Regions from separate parts of the Homo sapiens genome. Here region 2 is linked to region 1. Evidence: promoter capture Hi-C in 16 types of primary human blood cells and fetal thymus (Javierre and others, 2016). All regions are on one chromosome and are shown on one strand. Each heading gives the region's core, a stretch centred on a gene start or on the middle of the fragment in contact. The rest is flanking DNA. Distances are from core to core; before and after follow the strand shown.

Region 1 (6,667 bases), core at 77-2,576:
AGGCCTAGGACACATATGAGGTGACAGGCCACTGGTGTCACGTCACCCCCAGGAAAGGAAACTTCCGTTCCGTGGCGCCTGGTGGATTTGAAAAGACTCAGAACAGCAGGGTGAGATGCTTGGCCCCAGGCCCCACGTCCAGCTTGGCCTTCGGGGGCCTGGCCACCCACGAGCCTGGGATGTGCTCAACACAGAGTGAGGTTTTCAAAACAAAAGCAAAGCAACTTCATGTGGAAAACCTTCCGGAAAGCAGGACCCAGCCCTCGACACCAGGCCTCATTTGACGCAAACTGCCCACTTACAGACTCCCATTCACCCACTCTCCCACCTACCCCCCAAAATACTAAGCCAGAAAATAGAGGACAACCACGAGTTCAACTCTCCTTTACACGTTTTTACTGGCATAACCCCAGTAGAGCCAGCCCCTTGCAGCTCACTAGGCGGCTGCAACAGGTGCAGCCCAAGCTAAGGCTTGTGGTTCTCCTGGGCTGTTCTAGAATAATGCAACCAAAACCCGAAAGGAAACCGAGGCCTGCAGCACTCACTGCCAAGGCGGCGACCTGACCACTGCGGCCCAACCTGCCCCACCTGTCTGAGTGCGCGGCGCCGGGTCCAGTGCACAGGGTCCGCGGCCTCCGCGACCAAAATAGAAGCCCGCGGGGGCCCGGCCAGAGCCCGGCTGGCCGGAGTGGGGCCTGACCTGGCGGGGCCGGACTGGGCGGGCCGGGGCGCGACGGGGCCTGGCCGAGCGCACCGCCCCCTCCCTGGCCCGGGTATGCAGCGCGCCCCCGCTCCCCCGCGCCCAGAGGAGCCACCTGCGCGCAGGGACTGGGGAGGCAACCGGGAAGGGGAGAAGGCCGGGGAGGGATAGCAGAGAGGTCCAGGGGGTCGGAGGGGTCCGGGTAGGTGTCTCTGGGAGGCGTCCCAGGAGGGGCCCCGGGGGGATCCAGGAAGGAGTCCAGGGGTCCGGGGATCCCAGAAGGAGGCTCCTGCAGGGGTTCGGGGAGGGCCCCGAGGGTCCGGTGAGGAGCCTAGGGGTGTGGAGTGGGGGCTCCGCGGAGGGTCCAGGCCGCCCCCAGCGCACCTGCCCGGCCCCGCGCGCCCTCCCTCCCGCGCCAGCCCGGCCGCTTACCTGCAGCGCGCGTCCTGCCCGCGGCGGCTCCCGGCCGGGCGAGTTCGGGCGCCAGGAATGGCGGCGGCGGCGGCGGCGGCAGCGGCGGGAGGCGGCCGGGCCGGGGAGGGGGTGGCGGGGAGGCCCGGCGGCGGCAGCGGCGGCTGGGATGCTGCGGCGCGCGAGAGCGCTGAGGCCGGCGCGGGGACGGAGTGCGCGGGGCGGGCGCGCAGGCCCCTCCTCCGCTCCCCCTCCCTTCCCGCCTCCTCCCCTTTCCCTTCCCCTTCCTCTCCCCCTTCTTCTCTTCCCTCCTATGGCCCCGCCCCTTTCTTCCTCCTTCCTCCTCCCTCCTCCTCGCCCCTGCTCACCTCCCTCCTTTCCCTCCCCCAACCTTTCTTTTCCTCCCTTCTCTTTTTCCTCCTCTTTCTTCACCTTCGCAACACTCTTCCACCTCTCTCCCCTTCTCCCCACTTTTGCTCCCCACTCCTTCCTCCTCACCTCCCATCTCTCTTGCCTCCCCGCCAGGCCCAGAGGGTTGTCCCTCAGCCCTGGGTTGGTCTCTGCTGAGTCAAGCACCCGTTCCCAGGACCAAGAGGTGCCCTGTCACCCTCTTCCTCACCAGCTCTCAATAGACAAGCTTGCCCCTTCTGGGGTCCTGGATGAACCCCACCCTTTCCAGGCCTCCCCCAAATCCCCCAGTTTTTTTTCACCCCCAGACCCTGGGCCAGCTCTTCTGAGAACCTGACCTGCAGTGTGCGTGAGGCACGTGGCACCCAGAACACTTGGCTGCTGACTTTGGGCAAGAATATTTCACACCAGGCTGCTCCCATTCCCCAGGGGAGGGGCTGGCACCACCTGGAGTCTTGGTTTCCCTGAACCCCCGTGCTAGCCTTTTGCCAAACGTTCATCATTTTCCACTCTGTATGGCAAATGGTCCTCCTGTGAGGCTGCTGGTGAGACTTGTTTGTGACTAGCCCATGGGTTTGGGGATCTGGGGGCCCTCAGAGATGGTGCTGCTCCATCCAGACCTCTTCCCTCTGCCCCCAGGAGAGGTGACAGGGCTCGCACAGTGACTGGCCAGGCTGGGAGGCCTATTGAGGAACACAGTCCTGAGAAGGGGACACAGTTTCTTACGGAACCAGCTAAGATTTCCCCTAAATGTGAGGAGTTGGGGAGCCCCTCTCCAGGCCAGGTGATACCTCCCTGGACTACAGACTGCTGTTGAGGGGCAGGGGCCCTGAGGCTGTTTTCCTGCTGAGCACTGGCTCTGAGAGCCAGAGTTTACAAATGAAGCCAGTCCCAGGCCCAACAGTCACAGAGTTAAAGGCCCAACAGTCTCAGAGTTCCGTTCTAGGGCCTCCTGTGGTTTCTGTGGTTCAGTGCCGGAGCTCTGAGAATAGGGCTTCGGCCCAGCAAAGGCTAAGATGGCAAAGCTGGTGTCAAGCAGGGTGGGGTGGAGCACGCACCCCCTCCTCCCTCTACGGCATGGCAGCCACCACCCTCTTGCTGAAGAATCCAGACCTGGAATCTGATAGACTCCCTTGACTCACAGCTCTGCAGTTTCCAAATAACCTCAGGCCTCAGCAAACCTCTGTACCCTGCAACATGAGGACAGTGTGGTCGTCCTGGAGGGTTTGGGGAGCACGGAGAGAGAATGGCAGGTAAAGCCCACTGCACCGTGTGCTCGGGTTCAGTGCTGGTGACTATTACAGGAAAAACTAGAGAAGTCTTTTCCAAGCTCTTTTCCAATTGTAGGGGTCCATGAATCCATGTTCCACATCCCATTTGGATTGAAACATAATGGGAACGGATTAGGACAGAACTGGTTTAACAGCATTCTATACCCAAGGAGGGATGCACGCTTAGGATCTACACATGCAAGCATTGCACTGATTGGGGTGGGGTGGGGGGACTCTCTTTTATTCCTCACTAGTCAGACACATCTAGAATACCATGCCCTTGCTTGGTGTCTAAGGCAGCCAGCAGTATCCCGTGGGAGGGGAGTTGACCCACCGGGAGTCTTCAGCCTAGAAAATCAATGTGTGGAGCACAAGACAGAAGAACCCCAATATGTGCAAAACTGTCCCGGGAAGAAGGATTACTCTGTGGTGTTATGAAGGGCAGAATGAGGACAGATGGGTGGAAATTAGATGAGAAAGTGGATTCCTGCCTATCGTGGGCGCTTTCTGACAGACCTCACTGTGGAAGAGCCGGCTGCCCCTACAGGAGCGTGCCCTTCACAGCCAGCGTCTAGACAGGCCTGGGGCCACCTTGGGAACACACTGCAGGGAGGGGACCAGCAGCAGAGGGGTATGCTTCTCAACAACTGCTGAATTCTCTCCTGGCTTTTAGACCCACATGCTCAGAATCTAATAGAGGGCAGCCCAGGGCAAAGAAGAGACTTTGCATGGCTGTCCTGGGGCCCACACTTCTGGCATCATGACCTTCCAGAATACTGTCCTCTCTAGCCTGTTTCCTAATGCATACAGAAGAACATGAGAGAATTCAGTAAAAACTCCAAAAAGCTTTCCGCAATGCCCAGGCTGCGAACACAAGGGCTTCTTTGCACCGTGCTTATATAAAATTGCCCCCAAACATGTTTATTGCATTCATGAAGGAGACAGGACTCTTAGTTGTAAGTGATAGAACTTCAGCCCATACTATTGGCTCACTTGCATCCAAAGATGCCCCAAGTACCATTAGAACCGGGACTTGGATGCCATTATTAGGTCTTCCTCTTCCCTCCTCTCTGACCTTCTTCCCTGTTCCCTTCTCTCAGCATGATTGCCTATGTCTCCCAAAGTGACCAAGCTTGCCTTTTTATTCTTGTTTCACACTCTGTCGTGGGACATTTCAAACATAGATATAAAAGTAGCAGGCTGGGTGCAGTGGCTCACGCCTGTAATCCCAACACTTTGGGAGGCTGAGGCAGGCGGATCACCTGAGGTCAGGAGTTCGAGACCAGCCTTGCCAACATGGTGAAACCCCGTCTCTACTAAAAATACAAAAATTAGGTGGGCATGGTGGCACAAACCTGTAATCCCAGCTACTCAGGAGGCTGAGGCAGGAGAATCACTTGAACCCGGGAGGCGGAGGTTGCAGTGAGCCAAGATCATATACCACTGCACTCCAGCTTGGGCGACAGAGCAAAACTCAGTCTCAAAAAATAAAAATAAAAGTAGCTAAATGAACTCCAATCTTGCCTTACCTCTCACCCCCTTACTTTCCCCTCCAATATTAAGTTCAAGCATATCAAAGATCATATTAACCAATCTATTTCCTAGTTTCCCCAGAAATGCCAAGTGTTTGGATACTGAGACCATGCTTTGCAAAGTTTCTCTGCATTTCCCAGCCAGAATGTTGACACCATCTATATGCATATGAGCATAGTAACTGGATTGATAATAGTTAAGTCCCATATGAGAAAAAAACTCAAGTATGGCAGCACAAATAATACTCAGCTTCCAACACGGCCCAGGTGGATATGAGGAGAGAGGATCCTCTGCTTCCACTTTGCAGTGCAGGAGGGAACAGGCACGTAGTGGGCTGGGAGCCGTTTCCAGATCGCCCAGTGTGGAGCCTTACGCAGTGGAGGAGGTGTCTTCAGAAAGAGTCGGCCTGCCGCCTCTCACCTGTAGTGGCATGCAGAGTGTCCAGGCTAAGCTTAGAGAGAGAGTCAGCACAGCAAGTGGAGAAACGGGGTCCTCTGAGGGACTGTGGGAAGGTTGGCTCTGGGACCTGCCAGCAGCTTCTAGAAAAGTCCGGGGAGATGTCCTTTGAATGTGACCACACTCTGCAGAGACGTGGGTGAGCCACACCTCCACTGTTACCATGCAGTGGCTGCCAAGACCATGCTGTGACTCCTACTCCTAGCTCTGTTCCTCCCCGCACCCCAGAAAAGGCTGGTAAGAGTGTGGCCTTCCTGGCCAGCCTCTCCAAAATAGAGAGTCCACACCGGTCTCTGTCAGGCACCCTGATTGTTAGAACATGTCAATGAAGGAAGCCGAAAGGGATTTTGAAGGCTCTGAGATCCCCAGGCACCTCTAGCACCCTCATATGTCCTTACTGCCACTGAGACCCCCACAGGACCCACAGAGCTCTTTTTGTTAAAGCCACACTTGGAAACGTGGGGTCACACCAGCAGAAGCATAGAAATGAAGGCCGTGCTGAGATGTTATCATTGCTCTGTGCTCCTGCACAGCGTTCAACTGTCAAACCACTAAGTGCTAGATAAATCTGGTGAAGGGGTGTAATCCATTTTTGGTGCACACACTCATGGCAGCACTTCCCACATCACTGAACATGCAGAATGGTTTACCAAGCCATCCTTCGTCATACTGGGGAGTGTACAGGATGCTGATGTGGCCCCATCTGACCATTGATCTAATCAGTGCTGGTGTCTGCTGGATTAGACTTGCCCCAGCAAGTGAACTTGCCCCAGCAATGCCTTTCTGACCTTTAAGGTGACTGCTGTCACCAACTGCCAGACCATGGACCTCTTCGCATCCCTGGCTGGCTGGCAGACACCCACTTATGTGTCAAGGCTCTGCCCTGGCATCATTTCCTCCAACACAAACCCATGCACCCTGGGCAGAGCTAATATCCCCCACCCTGCTCCTCAGCTCGAATGTCACCTTACACGTCACTTCCTTGGTGCCTGCACCAGCTTCCATTATAATTGTTTGTTGATAGTTTTCTTTCTTCTCTGGTCTACATTTTGAACTTCACAGAGTGGTGAGGTCTACAGAACTCTTTTCAGAGTAATGTGTTTAAATGCATAAAGTCAAATACAGGATTCAAAAGGAAATGAATTATACTGAAATCCAGCTACCAAAATACTTTAAAATGTGATCTACTTGCTTCTTTTTTAATAATATGCTCTGGCGGCAGATCTGATAGCTGTAGTTTCCAAGTCATGATAAGTCAGCCGATATTTTAAAGTCTGTAACGAGCATGATGTGATGTGAGAATCGCTGTGATTTCTGCTGAGAAGTCCTTACATACTGCTGATGTGGCTGTGTTTGTTGCCTGCATGTACACCCGAAGGAAATGCTTCCTTTCAGTTAGAGGTTAGTGGGGAAAAAAATGTAATTCTTTTCTTATCATCCTTCCATCTGGATGGACCCTTCAAAGTTGATCAGACTAAGAATTACTATTTTAAAGGAAAGGGACCTTGTATCTCCAGCATCTTGCATAGTGCTTTATAAAGTTGCCATCAAACATGTTTATAGCATTAATGAAGGAGACAGGACTCTTGGTGGTAAATGACAGAAATTCAGCTCATACTATTGGCTCACTTGCGTCTAAAGGTGCTCCAGGTACAGTTAGATCCAGGGACTTGGATGCCATTATTAAATATCCCTCTTCTCTCGGCTCTCTGACTCTTTCCCTCTTTCTCTCTGATTGGCCCTAGCTCTGTTTGGGTGTTGGTTTTATCCTCTCCTGTCACAAGGCTCCTGGCCACCAAACTCTAAAATGATGACAAAGACTCTTTCTCTTTATATTGCAAATCTCATGGAAGAACTTTGATTGGCTCTGTTGGCTCTCATGCCAATC
Region 2 (6,356 bases), core at 3,218-5,717, 170 kb before region 1:
CAAGCCTGGCTGACAGAGTGAGACTCTGTCTCAAAAAAAAAAAAAAAAAAAAAAAAATCCCGTTTCAAGGTTCATTTGTTCATATGGTTTAAAAATATATCATATATCTAATGGGAGATGAAATGTGGAGGGAAGGGCAAAGAAAGGACCAAATAAACGTACTCCTCCTTTTTAAGGTTAACATTTTAAAATCTTGTTGAGCGAAGGGGAGGGGACTAGCAACCATAGCTGCCTCTGTGTGGATAATTTTTTGGAAATTGTTGACTTTTGCTTTCCACCTTTTTACTTTATATCTGTTAATATGGAGATGAATTTTACACATTTCAGGCTTAAGTTCTTCTAAATTTGAGTTGAAAGAAGGCTTACATTTTTCCTTACATTTTCTTTTTCCTTCTCAGGATTCATTCTCTAGGTTTACAAAATGGCTTCCTCTTGCAGCTGAATTTAGACAAAAAAAGTATTAATCTTTCACATAATTGTGTAGATTTATTTGTAGATCTGTTTTTAAGATTTGCATCAGGTGTAGTTCTAATCTAAGAATCCTAATGCTTTTTTCTTCTTTGATATGATTCTAACTTGTTTCCTTTTATTTGTGCCTGCATGATGTAATTGAAAATAGTTTGTACTGTATATAAATTCTAGAATTATATTTGCAAGAATGAGAATTGTAATGAATAAGAAAATGATTGAGTTGTCTTTTGTGTTTAGGAAATACTGAAAGTTGTATTTTTTTGACGAAAGTTGAAACACTACCTTTATATGCTGGAATTTGGTCTTTGGTAGGAATACCCTATTTTTCCACTGTATTTCATCCACTGTAAAGGGGAGTTTGGCATGGGTCTCACTTGAGTTGTTCCCTACCTTGAGTGTCTCACATAACAAAATACAAAAATATATCTCAGTGACAAGAGCTCAAAGCCATCTGCTAGGTGGTATTTAGTTACTCAAAATAGTGGTGGAAAACATTCACATGGCTAAAGGAACATTTTGGCAGTAACATGAGTGGAGACTAATCAGAGACTCAAGAATGGGCAGTGCTGAATTTAAAAATTAGTTTTCTTGGCCGGGTGTGGTGGCTCATGCCTGTAATCCCAGCACTTTGGGAGGCCAAGGCGGGTGGATCACGAGGTCAGGAGTTCAAGACGAGCCTGACCAACATGGTGAAACCCCATCTCTACTACAGAAATACAAAAATTAGCCGGGTGTGGTGGCAGGTGCCTGTAATCCCAGTTACTCGGGAGGCTGAGGTAGAGAATTGCTTGAACCCAGGAGATGGAGGTTGCAGTGAGCCAAGACTGCGCCACTGCACTTCAGCCTGGGCAACAGAACAAGACTCTCTCTCAAAAAAAAAAAAATAGTTTTCTTAACTCTTCTTTTTTAGCTTTGGTTTATGACCAAGGAAAAGTATTCACGCCTGGCAAGAAAACAAGGATAAGGAAGGCATTAAGTTGAAGAGGAAGAGTTAGAAAGGAAAAGATCCTTTAAAGTGGGGATGAAATAATGAGACTTCACATGGTTGAGAATTGATTATCTGAGCAGTTCTAATATAGATTAAAAATTGCATTGCCATAGTCAGATTACATGTAAATGGAGATCTCTTGCTGCTGTGACAAAAGGAATAGAAGTTTCTGAAACAACTATTTCCTCCTTCTTACTTGTTCAACTACATAGCATCCTAAGTCAACTTTGTATGTCCCCTTCCCTCATCTTTCCTTAAAGAAGGTATAGTAACCTTTTACAGAATTTGTCCTCCTCCAGTACCTTTCACAGTGCACTCAAAGATGCTCATTTATTCATTTGGAATTAATTATTGAAAGTCTTCCATAGTTTTGAAGTGATGGAGATGAAAATGAACATACCAGACTCTTCCATATTTATGTTATAGGACAAGACAAAGAAATTAGAAGTAGTCTGATAGATAACATTTGCCATGTTTGGAAAATACTGATTATTTACTGATGTAATGAACAAATTTGCCTATGCAAACAAAATAAGTTTCTTCCAAGTAATGTCCATTGTCATGTTACATCCTTTGTGAAAAATCCTGTGCAACCTGTGTATGAGGATGTGTGCCTTTTGTTTGGGTATTATTGTATACTTCCACTTCTTTCATAGTTACTACAATCCATGAGGTGGCAGGCAGATGTAATGTTATTTTGCACATGGGAAACTGAAGCTAGGAATGTTTGTTCATGCTAATTCAAATAGGTAGCACCAGAACCAGAATTAACGTGCTATTCTTCAAAATTGCTGCTGCTATTGACAAGAGGTAGTTGAGCATTTTCACCATCTGCCAATATACTGTGAAAATTTTAGTACCAATTGATGCTTTTGAGTTAAAGCAGATCAGCTATGAGAAGAACTAGTGGTATACAACATTGTACAGCTGAGCACGTGGCTCGGTGGGTGGAGGAGAAACTGCATCCCCTTTGGGTCGTTGCCTGACTGAAGGGACCATGTGCATGATATGTTTGGGAGATAGTAGAGGAATAAAGTGATAATTTTGGGGGGAAGCTGTCAGTAGATTGGAAGCCTGCATAGTACAGCTGAAAAGTTTTAGGTTTGCTGGGTAGGCAATAGGGAACTTTTGGTAGTGTCTTAAATGGGGTCATTGTAATCACTCCTAAATTTTGGAAAGATTTTTAAAGAAGAGGGTCTTGAAGGCTTTGACCAGGTTCTAGGCACTGGAAATAGTAAAGAAACTACATGAGAGAACTGTTGAAATAAAAAAGAGCCCCATGATTGTCCGTACAGGTTTTGGTGGGAAAGATGTTACAAAAATATTCGGTTGAATACATGGAAATAATTGTAGGATCATACATGAGAACAGAAGTTGTAAATGGGGCTGTTTTGGGGAATGGATGTTAAATTTGGGATTTATACGTGCTGAATTGGGAAAAAGTGAAATAGTAAGTGGAAATGACCTGAAAGTTGGAGATGGAGGCCTGGACTAGGGAAGGTGCTGGATTGTTTATATTTATGTCAAGTCCTAAGCAGAAAGATAAGAGGTTCTGACCCAGAATGTGTCAGATGGGTGAGATAAGGAGGGTGTAGAGGAGACTGCACTAGGGAAAGAGACAGAGATAGAGCCTTGGAGGGCAGGTGAGAGCCAGGCGAGCAAAGTCCAGGCCAGGGAGCTTTTCAAGTCATGTGATGGTCAAGCCAGACCCAACGGGTGCCTGGAGGGAGAGGCAAGAAGGAGGTCCTGGGAGACCTGGAAGCCGTTGGTGGGAAAGGGGCAAAGGGAAGTGGAGCCAGGAGACCAGCAGGTATTGCACAATTACTCAGACAGTTTGATTTTAGTATGGATGGGGTAGCTTAGGACAGTGAATGAGAAACAGGTGTGTTACTGTGGGTTTAGGGTCATCTGGGCCACTCCTGGCATCTGGAATTTCCCAGACATGCCATTTGAAGCCACGCCAGATGCTGTGAGTTACTGCTTTGATGTTTTGTATTTTGTGTTGTTTTCTGCATGTAATTGTGTTTGCACTGGATGGAAATGGAAAATACCAACTTTCCAGAGGAGGAAGGACCAGTGAGGGGACAGAAACCCAAATGACTTACCCAGAATAGAAAACTGGATTGTGATTGAGCTAGGACCCCAACCAAGGTCTCCTGACTCCTGGATGAAAATTTCCTGGATGACAGCAGCCGTCAAAACCAATGGAACCTGTCCCTGCTTTCCTTTTTAGCTACATTTCATTTGTCTGTTCATTTATCTATTTATTGGACTTGGGACAGTCTTTTTCACATTTTTTTTTCTGTCAACTCATCTTTTATGAAGAACAGATTATCCACCTTCAGTGACACTTGCCCCCCACTAGCTTTTCTCAACTACAAACAAAATACAGCACAGAATTCACAGGAACATGTAGGCAGTGGGATGAAGCTTTGAGCCTCTTTTCTACAAAGAGCTAGTCCTCAGTGCTGTATGTTTGGAGCAGTGCTAGGCCAGTTGTTTTGTTGGACAGACAAAGGTCAGTAAAAAGGGGTTTATTTGATTTTTAATTAGGAATATTTCATGTTAAAGTTACTTACCTGTAAGTAAAAGATCTTAGAAAATCTAAGTTAACATATCATGAAATAGTAAACAGTGAGATGAGAGAATATATGATTAAGTACTGGATAGAAGTGAAAGCAGTAAACGTTATTATATTATAGGTAGAGCCTGTAGTCTCCCTTTCTTATTCAGTGTAGTCTGTTACTTGCAGCGCATTAGAAATATGATTTCTAGTAAGCGGTGCTTATGCTCATATCTCCTGACAGCGTAGCAGTTTGAAGGTCTTAAAGGGTGTGTCATGACTAGGTTTGGATTTTTTGCCTTTCAGTGTACTAGTACATTTTGGAATAGCTCCGGAAATTAACAGAAACATTTGCTGGAAGGAGGAGGTTACTATTTGTATTTTAAATCAGTTGCTTAGCATTTTGTCATTGTATCAGCTTTCATGGGAAAAAGGTTGAAACCTGTAGCCTTGTATCAAATTGGCTAAAAAAGAAAAATTAGTGTTAAATTATATTTTGGTTTAGTCTAGCAGCTTGGGATAAATTGAGGCAATAGCAACCTTCAAAGCTGGTGTCCATCTGTTAGTAAAGTGTGTAGTTAACATCCACGGTGCCGTGCGGTGTCTGCTTTGCGCTCTGACCCTGTTAGTCAGCAAAGCGCAGGATGTCATGGTGGGCTTGGAGCAGGGAAGGGCTGGAGAAAACCATTTGCAGGAGCCTTGGTGGAGGCATTGCAGGCTGTTGGGTCTCCCCGCAGCAGAGAGAATGGTCTTTAGGGGCATTTTGGCCAGGGTTGCTGGGAGAGGCTTTCCCAAATACTTGGTAGCAATTGGGTGAAAAGCTGCTGGAGCATCTTCTGGCTCTGTTGATGTTTCTTACGGACTTCCAGCTCATTAGTGAAAAAATAGAGTCAACATCTTTCTTTGCAGGGTGAGAAAGAAACACCCAGAGATTTTATTTGGCTTTTAATTAGGGATTATTCCAGTGCTAGAGTGAATGGTCTCAGAAATATTAAATGTTCAGTTTGAATTAGTTTATTACAGAAAAGCTTCTTGGTTTGCAGTATGAAATCTGCAACTAAAGTTTACACTTTTTACTTAGGCAGAAAATATATACTGAAGACATGGCCTTTGGAGCTTCAACTTTTCCACCTCAGTATTTATCTTCTGAGATAACTCTTCATCCATATGCCTATTCTCCTTATACCCTTGACTCCACACAGAATGTTTACTCAGTGCCTGGCTCCCAGTATCTTTATAACCAACCCAGTTGTTACCGAGGTTTTCAAACAGTGAAGCATCGAAATGAGAACACATGCCCTCTCCCACAAGAAATGAAAGCTCTGTTTAAGGTGAGTAGTGATGTTGTTTTGTTGTGTCCTTTAGTTGGTTGCTTTAATGTTTAAAATGTAAAGAAATGGTAAATTTGTACATCATATTTAAGTATCATGTATTTTTTTGTATTTAACCTTTTAAAAAATGATTGAATTGTGAATACTTAATATTTTGCTGCTTTAAACCTTTTTTATAGTGGTGGTTTTATTTCATGTTGCTTTTTAATCTTTCCTGCAGAAGAAAACCTATGATGAGAAAAAAACGTATGATCAGCAAAAGTTTGACAGTGAAAGGGCTGATGGAACTATATCATCTGAGATAAAATCAGCTAGAGGTTCACATCATTTGTCCATTTACGCTGAGAATAGTTTGAAATCAGGTAAAAATAACCAACAATGTAGTATAATGCGAGCCTACTCCTTGTGCCCCAGAAACATTCCTGCTATGTATACAGCTGTTTCTATGGGCTTGTTCATTGTGACTACTCCAAGAAATGAGACCTGGGTCTGACACAGCTTAGGGCGTCAGACTTCCTGAGCAATTCTAGAGGTATTTCTTCCCAGGGATGGGATTATTATTTGGTACCTGTTGCATTGTGGGATCTTAAGTGCCTATAATTTGTATTATTTGGTATATACATTTTTCTCTTTTCATTGACTTCACTCATAAACCATCTGGTACAAGGGACGTTTATTAACTGTAGTAACTGTGGTCTTATAATTAAATGAGTGGCTTCATGTAGCTGCAGCCTACCTTATCCATTGCATTTCAGGAGAAAGATGGGGAAGAGGTTATGCGTTTTATGCTACCTGCTTCCCTCTAGTTTATTCCAGCAAACTGAAAGATGGAAAGTTTACTAGCACAGAAAATTCATTAGAGTCCCTTTAAATTTGCAATACAATAAAATGTCTAAAAAGAATAATTAAAATGCCCAGCTGCACAATCAGGTTAAGGTAACTATTTCATCAGCCTTAGAATTATAGTCATGCCTCACTTACTGATGGGGACACATTCTGAGAA

The links. The method cuts DNA at HindIII sites, captures the fragments that hold promoters and counts their contacts. A CHiCAGO score of 5 or more calls a contact.
Region 2: a contact is called between a fragment that was not itself captured here and the fragment with the promoter of SEMA4D in region 1, in 9 of 17 cell types (total CD8 T cells, neutrophils, non-activated CD4 T cells and 6 more). The highest score is 11.4, in total CD8 T cells.

The regions. Positions count from the first base shown.
Region 1 is chr9:89,496,787-89,503,453 of GRCh38, forward strand. SEMA4D (semaphorin 4D) reads right to left here and starts at 1,327. Exons shown (of 16, transcript NM_001371194.2): 1 at 1,133-1,327. RefSeq lists silencers at 647-796, 1,227-1,416. The HindIII fragment of the contact is 2,547 bases long and covers 1-1,746 here.
Region 2 is chr9:89,320,324-89,326,679 of GRCh38, forward strand. It overlaps SECISBP2 (SECIS binding protein 2), which reads left to right. Exons shown (of 17, transcript NM_024077.5): 3 at 5,104-5,353; 4 at 5,574-5,715. Among named protein-coding and RNA genes, the nearest start is that of SECISBP2, 5.0 kb to the left of the region's middle. The HindIII fragment of the contact is 1,161 bases long and covers 3,888-5,048 here.